Linked DNA regions of Homo sapiens: region 2 is linked to region 1. The links are contacts of gene promoters, found by promoter capture Hi-C in human tissues and cell types (Jung and others, 2019). All regions are on one chromosome and are shown on one strand. The core of a region is centred on a gene start or on the middle of the fragment in contact, and the rest is flanking DNA. Distances in the headings are between cores, read along the strand shown.

Region 1 (4,646 bases), core at 1,045-3,544:
TATGGCAACACTTCAGTCACCACTTTCAGATAGGCTTCCAAACTTAGCCTCACAAAAATCTCACTCACTCAACAAACAGAGCCCAACATCAGGAGTAAGGACTGGACCCTGAATCCTGACTCTACCACTTCCTAATTGTGTCATTTGGGAAGGTACTTATGCTCTGCAACTGTCTCCTCACCTATAAAATGGGAGTAACTTCACTACCTCCCAGTGTTAAAAGGATTAAATGTATAACAAGTTTTCTTCTGGCAGCGCCTGGCACATTGTAAGCACTCAATTAAGAATATCATTACACAATATTGAGGAAACCAGACAAGATCCTTGATCTATCTTGATCCCTTTTGGCTATCATTTCTTTTATATTTAAAGTTTACTACTTTGCCTCAACATGGCCCCTTTCCGCTAAGGCTTTATCTTTTTTACAGAACACACTTAATGCTTGTTGACTTGTTCATTTTGTAAAAGTTAATAACCTTTCCCTTTGCAGTTTCTAGCTCTCCTAAGCAGACCCATCTCAAAGGCTGGGGCCGTATTTCTCTGCACACTCGTTTGGGATTCAAGTCTAATACGTAAAGGTTATGAGTGAGCACAGAGCAACCCATTTAAAGGGCTTGGTTTCTTTTCAAAAAAAAATAAAGGCAAAACAAGGGTTTGAAGGGCAAATTTCGAGAACTTTTCGTTAACATAACAAGAACTAAGCCACTGAGTGTATTCTGTGTCATATTCATCACAACTACAGGGACTAGCAGTAAGGAAGCCATTAAATTCCCATCTCCAGCCTTAGCCTAGTATTTTATACACGGTTGGTTATGAAAGCAGAACTCAGAATGTTAATTTTTTTCACCTATGTAATTTATCTTAAGAGTGGCAATACCAAAAGGCTACTATTGCCCTAAGCAAACTTCAACAGTTAGCCATTTTAAATAAATACTACTGAATTAAGTAAAAATCGCTCTCCAGGGAAACCCCAAGGGTCTCATTCTCAGCCCAATGCAGATGGGTAAATTATCCAAGAACGACTGCTCTGAGAACGAGAAAGGCTACTCCTTTCCAGATGTCAAGCCAGACAGCAAAGAACCCTTTATACATAAGCTGAGAGCTGGAGATTACTGTCTGAAAATGGCAGCTTTGCCCATCTCTAGTCCATCGTCTCCCTTTTGGCATTATTCCACATTTTTCACTAACCATTTTTCTGCAGTCAGAAAACTTTAAGAAGGGAAGGCCGTTTTAAAAATGAGGCATAATTATGCCAACAGCTTGCGGGTTCATGGACCCACAAGAATTGCCAAGACTAGACTCAATTCCAAGCACGAGGACTGTCTGTTACTCCACAAACATGCTTAGATCGAATCCGAGACCGCAAACGGCTGTAACATGGAAGGAAAATATGTAAAAGAGGCACAAGGGCTCTGCTGCAACACTCACGCCATTTCCACCCTCCTCTCGCTGAGCACTCGAGGTTTATCCGGCTTTCAACTCAATTCGCACGTTAAGATGGTGACTCCCGCTAGGCGAGACTTACGCGGCCCGGGACCTTCCCGGGGACCAGGCGCCTTCTCGAGTGCCCAGATGGAGAAACTGGGGCTGGGCGAGCCCCCTTTGTCTCATCTATCAGCCCAGAGAAAGGAAGGAAGAAGTGAGGGAGGAAAGGAGTGAGGGAGGAAAGGAGGGAGGGAGGAAGGGGGCTAATCCCTCCCAGCCCCGCAGCCTGCGCAGGGGCGGGGAGCGAGGGGAAGCACCCGGGCCCTAGACCCCGGCGCCCCGGAGGGCAGCGTGCGGCGCCGGGCGCCCTACCTCGTCCTCCTGCTCGCTCCGGAAGCACAGGCACGCCGCCCGCTTCTTGAAGCCCTCGCGGTCGTAGGTCCGCGTCTGGTTGGGCTTGAACTTCATCATAGAGGCGGGCTCCTGCTGCTGCTGCTGCTGCTCCGGCCGCCGCCGTGGGGGCCCGGCCGCCGCCACCCCGCCGGGGAGTGGGGGCGAGGGCGAGTCGGGCGCAGGAGCGCCCGGGAGCGCTAGTCGGTGCGGGAGGTGCGGCGAGGCCGGTCAGTCCCGGGGCCGGCGGCCGCTCCGACGCGGGCGGGACGGGACGCTAGCGCGGGTCACTGGAACCAGGGTGCCGAGATGAAAGCTCCGCCTCTGCCCAGTTGTCCGCCGCTCTCCATGGAGCCCGACTCCCGCTCGCCTCCGCTCCCTCCGGCCGTAGCCGCCAGGGGAAGGGCGGCTAGAGGCGCGCGCCACGCGGAGACAGTTGCGAAGACCCGCTCCCACTGAGCAGCAGCACCGCGGCGACCGCGCGCCGCCCCCTCTGCTCTGTTTAAATGAAGCCCACATGCGCCCCGCCTCCCCCGCGCGCCACTGCGCCTGCGTGCAGAGACCATTGCAATGGGGTGGGTGGGTAGGTGTGGCGGGGGAGGTAGGGGCGGGACCTCGGCCGCCCGGTGGGCGGGGCCGCGCGCACTCCCGGGCTGGAGTTCGGCGAGGCCTTGGGACTGGCGCTGGAGCCCAGCGTGGGATGACCGTGCCCCGAAAACATGCCAGTGAATGGAAAGAAGCCAAGGTCCCCTCCCTCCCTGCTTATACCCTCAACTTTGCCAATGAGGACCCTAAATACCAGCTGCACTACAGGGGATGTAACTACATACACCGTCACCAAAGTTGCAGCCTGGCCAAGAAATGCCAGGGGACGTCGCGGCGATTGCAGACTCCGCGGTGACTGTGTAGATACGTCCAGAATTCGCCCTTGTAGCGCGGGGAGAGGCGAGAGTGAAGGCCTAGAAAAGTTAAGACGTTAACTGTTTTTTTTTTCTTTGTTTTCACAAATGGGGGGTAGGCAAATTTCCTTTTTTTTTTTTTGTATTTAAATTTTTAATCTTTGGTTGGGGATGGCTTGTATTATTTAAAGAGTCAACTCTAGCTTAAACGTTTCTTTGAAGCTGTCTATAACATCCCCCACTTTGTGCCACCTTCCGGAAAGTATTAATACTGGCAATGGCTAATAGTTGCGAAATGGTTTTCATGTGGATCTCATGCTAAGTAACAGCGCAGCTGGATGCTGGGGCCACAGCACTAAAATATAATGGGATTTCTGCTATCTGGGAGCTTACAGTACCTTGGGGACTTGGAACAAACAACCTCTACACTTCAGAGTGTTAGAAGGGCTAAGATAGGAGCCAGGAGGCCTGATCTTAAGGTAGCTCGAGAAACCCAAACTCAGGCCATTCTGCCCTTCCACAGAGGCCCAGGTTGCTTGGGTCCTGACTTGGTTGGTTGGTTTTTCACCCCTTGAGGGCCTATTGTGTGTCAGGCACTGGCATCTAACAAAACCAGTCAGCCCCTGCCTCTCCAGGAGCGTAGGCACCTGAGAGCACACCGTCAAATATTAAATGATCACACGTGTACACGTAAAACTACAAATGTAATGGGCTCTAAGGTTTCAGACAAAGATTTGACCAGATCTGCAGTCAGAAAAAGATTATTGGGGCAGCAAGGCAGGAGCTGAGGGCTGAAGGAGGAGGAGCTAAATTGACCAAGAGCTTTCAAGGCAAAGGGAACTGGGATTTCTGCAGAGCCCAAAGTGGGAGGGAGTGAGGAGAGTTCTCAGAAATGAAAGAAAAGGCCAGTGTGGCTGCAGAGCGGAGGCAAGCTGGTTCCGCCTCTGGCAGAGGGGCCTGTGAGGCCTGACTGAGAGGCTGGGGACCACTGGAGAGCTCAGAGCAGGCACTGGTCTTTCTAGTCTCCAACCTCCTTTAGATTTGGGACTGCTGCATCTAACTCATCTTGTTACTCCCAGAGCCCAGCAGATGTAAGTTTGTAGAATGGGTTAGTGTTGAATAAATAATTTAAGGAATGAGGCTTCACCACAATTAGAAATCTTATCAAGACTGCGCAGAGATGTTTTCCAAGCCATTGATTTCTTATTGAAGGCACTTGAAATTTAACTATGTCCAGGATTTACAAACACAGGCAGAAAACATCTAGCTGGGGAGTCCGCTATGGCTAATATGTGATTATTATTTTTGGATAATTGGTTCACATCAATAAAGTTATTAATCCTGGCTTGGTTGCACAGGCTAGAGTGCAATGGTGCTGTTTCAGCTCACTGCAGCCTCCATTTCCCAGGCTCAAGGGATTCTCCGGCCTCAGCCTCCTGAGTACCTGTAACCACCACAGTTGCATGCCACCATGCCTGGTTAATTTGTGGATTTTTTTAGTAGAGGTGGAGTTTCACCATGTTGCCCAGGCTGGTCTCGAACTCCTGAGCTCAGGCGATCTGCCCACCTCAGCCTCCCAACGTGCTGGGATTACAGGCGTGAGCCACTGCACCCTCCTCACTATGGTCTTTTTTATTTTTTACTTTTATTTGTTTTATTGTGGCCTTTTAAATGACAAAGAGATTCCATTTCCTTTGTTTAAAACCCTTCAAAGTTCTGGTTTCTAGTTGTTGCTCAATAAATACTAGTTGGCTGAATATTTGTTCACTCAAGTCTTTCCCATTTATTAATTACATGAGGGAAGTCATGAATCAGAATTAACTGAGAAAAAAAAGGGAAGATGCTTAGAACCAAATCACGGAAGGGAGGAAAAACAGCAACACCAAGGCAGTGAGTGTGAGCTACTTGCTTCAGCTTCTTGGCCACTGGACT
Region 2 (4,749 bases), core at 2,081-4,580, 1.8 Mb after region 1:
GTTTTTCTTTTGGAAACCTTTATTTCTGGAGATAGTGATCTCATCTCTGTGGGATGTTTATTTCTTCAGATTCTGTAATAACAGTGAAGCTACCTGGATTTCAGTTCTTGTACAATGCACATAAACACTTATTTTGGTGCTTTTTCTCTGGGTCTCCAAACGTTAAAAGATTGGATGATTTTAGCAGAACATTGACCATCCTAAGAAAATTGTGACGGGAAGAGGAATAATTATTCTGATATTTAACCTTATGAAGTATTTTATGTAGCCTTTGGTAATTTGCTTTGCAGAATGCCTCCTTTTCTTAGGCTGTGTCACATTATATTTGGGTAGATGGGCATTGTGTTTATTTTATGAATACTAAGAATGAAATGCACAGTTTTTAGAAAGTGTTTTAAGCAGGTCATTATCTACGCTATAATATAGACGTTTTTGCAATTTATAAGTAGTAAAGTGGGTGAAATTTTGTGGGTGTGTGCATGTAGCTTTTTTTTCTAATTCAAAATTAATAGAAAACTAAAAATAGGGTCTTTATTATAGAAGCTAATTCAGCTACTTAGAAAATATACCACAATAAAATTAACCAGTCTGTGGTTTGTTTATGACAGATTTGGTTAAATGACTTCTTTCTGTTACGGGACAATTTTCAGGATTATTCAAATTCACCCACTTTTTAAAATAAATAATTTGCCTATTCTTGTTTCATTCTCCCTCTAGAGGATATCAGTGCGTATTACAATTCAAACATTAAATATGCCAGTAGGTCTAATTTAAATACAGCACGATCCTGAGAACTGTTCCTTGACTTCATTTGTATTCAACTTAACTCAGTTCTAGAAGCCATTATCTTAAGTAGCTCTAAGTTTGCAGCACTTTTTTCCTTTAAACCTAGGTGTCAGTATCTTAAGGAGGTCATTTTTGTTTTGTTTTGCTTTGTTTTGTTTTTGTTTTTTTAAACAACAAAATCAATATCTTAACCCTCGTGAAGAGCAGTACTGAAATGGTTAGAGTTTCAGTTTCTAATATAATGAGCGGTGTGTGTTTGTGACTCTAAAAGTCTAATTATTGTGTTCTGGGATATCCACATTACATCTGCTAGGCAGTCTTTGAGGACACTGGAGGCCATTTAATGTTGTATAAATTAAGTATCACAATAAAAAGTGGTCCAGTAACCTGCAGATATGACAGTCAAATATTAGAATTGGTACAAAAATATTTATGGACATTCACCTGAAGATGAGCATAGGAAAGGGCTCCTTATCTTGCTTTCAAGAGACATGAATGATTTGATTTGCGAAAGCTGCCTAATCATTCAGAGCCTATTTTCTCTATCAGTAAATAGGAATAATTATATCACCTTTTAGTAGTATGAAGACCAAGTAAAATCTAGAAAATGCTTAATATGTGACTGACTTGGAGTAAATTATTTTCTCTTCTATTGTAATAAAAATTCTCTGGTTGGAGCTAAGAAGTGAAAATATAAAAATTAGCAAAACCTTTCGGGAGATTCCCCTCATTTCTTGATTTATTTTCTTATATGTTCTGTACTTCCAATTTCAGAGTCATGGCATGATTTTATCTTCAAAATGTTGTTACAGGACTCTTGCAGAAATGCCAGTCGTAGGTGGACAGTCTGGAAAAAGAAATCCATGATTCTGTTTCTTAGTGTGAGACTGTGGGGCTTTATTTCTTTTTGGTGGGACATAGAAAGGGAGAAATAGGTAGTCATTTATGTTTTGATTTAGAAGTTCAGCATATAAAGTTTCAAAAAGAAAGATGCTATAGAATATAATAATATATTTCTATTTGTATTTTAAAAGCCTAAAAATTATTTATGAAACTATTTGCAGGAAGTTGGGATTAGGCAGAAGTTTGGAAAACTTTTTCTTTCTCTGTACGGTTTACATAAAAATATTTTCATGAAGAATATACATGATAAAATTTCTTAAGGTGAAAGGTAAATCTTCCATTTCTGAACTCCAGTACCTTAATTTCCCTCTCAAAGACACCCACAGTTTATAGTTCATCATTTTTGTAAGATTTTGCTAGGCAATATATACATACATATATATATATATATAAAAATATAAAATGTTTGTTTTCAGTAGGTGTGTTCTATAGTCTTTGTGAACACTGAATTAGTCACTACTGTACCATTGCTCCTATGGGAAATACAGAGTTAGGTTTCTGAAAGCCTTTGGTCACAACAGTGTCATCATCTGATCTATACGTAACTTTGTTTTGTGTGTTTTTGTGTATGAAGGCATCTTATTTATGATTCATTAACATTAAACTCACAGCCACTATAGCTCATACCCAAACAAAGTTTATCACATATATTTTCACCATAAGGCACATTACAGTCTTCTTGTGCTTAGGAACAGTAGACAGCACTTCAACACTATGCTTGGGGGAAATTTTAAACAGTAAAATCACCAGCAAAAAAGCACAAAAATGAGAAACATTTGGCACTAAATAGACCATGAAAAGGACACTTGTTTATAGTATGGAAGCTGAAATAAGAGGGCAGAGCATTGCCTTCTTTAACCTAGAAAGTTCTGCAAGTATTGATTTTGGAGTTATTAATACAAATATATCTTAGCAAGTAGAAGAACCCATGAATAATGAGGATCAACTGTATATATATGTATGTATTTATATGTATGTGTGTATGTATATGTATATTCTTTTAATCATACACTAGCAATATATTACACGCACTGTTCTGACAGTTGCTTTACAGTATTACTCAGCAGACTCTGAAGTCAGACTGTGGGATCAAAACCTGTCATTACCCTTTGCTAGCTGTGTTACCTTGGGCAGGTTACCTAACTTTTCTGTGCTTCTCTTTACTCTTCTATAATATGGGACTTATAAGGGTATTTACTTAATGGAGTTGTCGTGAGGATCAAATTATTTGATACACAAAAAGCATTTAGAATATATCTGACACATCATAGACATTATGTATTTGCTGCATCATCATTTAAGATATTTGGATAATATTCCTTATTGACCTATATAGCAGGTTCTCACTCTTTTTGAAAACAACATTGTGTTACATCATATGGATACATCATAATTTTTAAACCTGGTGCCCACAGAGGGCATTTATATAGCTTTGTATCTTTTGCTTCAATGAGAATCATCTAACACATTTTCATGTACACGTGGAAATCAACCTGTAGGCAAAGGGGTTGTGCAGTTTTAATTGTATATATATTACCACATTTCCCACAGATTTATTATAATAATCATGTATAATTTAAAAAGCTATTTACTTTCAATAAAAAGAGAGAAAAGAATGACTCTTAGCTTTTATCTTTTGCTCAAATGCAGATTTTTTAATGCAATAAATTGAATAAATAATCACATTTACCATGTAAATGATTACAGTGACATTTAATGCCACCCATTTTTTAGGTCTATTAAACACCAAAAAGTTTGCAAATATTTTGCAGACTTTACATAAATTATATTGCCAGTCTAGAATATTCTATCAGTCCAGTAAGAATATACCATCTCAGTTAAGTAGGAGTACACCTATCATTTCCTCTACTTGATACTTCTCTTTATGTTAGTAACTCCCCAATAATTTCACTTATTACATTGTGTAAAAAATGAAATCGAAAGCAGAATAGCTGATATACCCTCTGCTTTAAAGGCACTAGTATTAGCTGTAGAAGCTTGAGAAAAACACAAATCTTGCTCAAAAAGGATTATTTTTAATACAAAGAGCACTAATAACTTCCACAAATTAACTATGACATTAAGTAGTCTTCCGGCTTCTTCAATATTTCCACCTTGCTGGCGTTTGCTCGCCTTCCAAATCACTGAAGGAGAGGCATGATTGAGCTTTTGCTTCCTTTCACAACTTTTTCAGAGCAGATTATGTTTCACTTCTTTTATTTCCTTAATTGTTTCTTTCGGAACATTCATTAATCTCTTTACAGGCAATCACAAAGGTATCAGGAATTCTGATTATGGGCTGTGGTGACAATAACCACAAAGGACTGAGCTGAGGTACATTTTCAACAAGGGGAGGATGTCTTTGGAAGCTCTCTATGGGATTGAAAAAAGGTTCTAGAAAATAGCGTGAGTCACTCTTATTAAGGGAGTCAGGGAGGAGAACAGCTGTGCAAAATTAGTACCAGTATCTTCCTACCTTTCATTTTAAACTTTTCAAAAGATTTTTTCTGGTCAGTTCCTCCTGAGAAGGGCAACCTAATCAGACATAATCTTTGCTTTTAGAGGTTACCATGGTGACTGGCCAGGACACACTGTCTTCTCTGGACATCATAAACACACATTTTCTATGGTGCTGAATAAGCCTGTATACCATCAGAGTCTTTCTTTGATTGATAAAACAAATAGGGAACATTGAAATGGTTCACAGCAATCAGAAATGATATTTTCCCATATTGATTTTTTTTTCTTTCTTTTTGCCCTTTCTCTATCTGTGCCATGTCTCTTTGAAGTATACATCAAGGCACAATACTTATTGTAGGAAGCAAAATCAAGTGAATCTTTTTTTTTTTTCATGTGGACCAAGATAGTCAAAGATTTTCCTTACCACTTATGTTCTGCCAAGTGAAAGACAATTTCACTTACCCAGGTTGACAGACAACAGAGACTCATACACAATCAGAAGATAGTACTGTGACTAGGTGAGTGTGAGAGCAATCACTAATTTGTGAGAAGTGGGGCAGAGAGAACAGTGCATACTAATTTTTTAGCTTCTTGAACAGA

The links. Contacts are between HindIII fragments. The study calls those that stand out against the background at their distance.
Region 2: a contact is called between a fragment that was not itself captured here and the fragment with the promoter of NUDT4 in region 1, in 1 of the 25 tissues and cell types used here (dorsolateral prefrontal cortex).

What each region holds. Positions count from the first base shown.
Region 1 is chr12:93,375,573-93,380,218 of GRCh38, reverse strand. NUDT4 (nudix hydrolase 4) reads right to left here and starts at 2,294. Exons shown (of 5, transcript NM_019094.6): 1 at 1,798-2,294. The coding sequence starts at 1,896. It overlaps LOC643339 (a long non-coding RNA gene), which reads left to right and starts at 2,483. Exons shown (of 5, transcript NR_040096.1): 1 at 2,483-2,782. RefSeq lists silencers at 1,663-1,962, 2,183-2,522 and an enhancer at 1,759-2,698. The HindIII fragment of the contact is 9,866 bases long and covers 1-4,646 here.
Region 2 is chr12:91,574,061-91,578,809 of GRCh38, reverse strand. All of the region lies in intron 1 of LOC105369896 (a long non-coding RNA gene), which reads left to right. Among named protein-coding and RNA genes, the nearest start is that of LINC02823, 250 kb to the right of the region's middle. The HindIII fragment of the contact is 3,773 bases long and covers 1,444-4,749 here.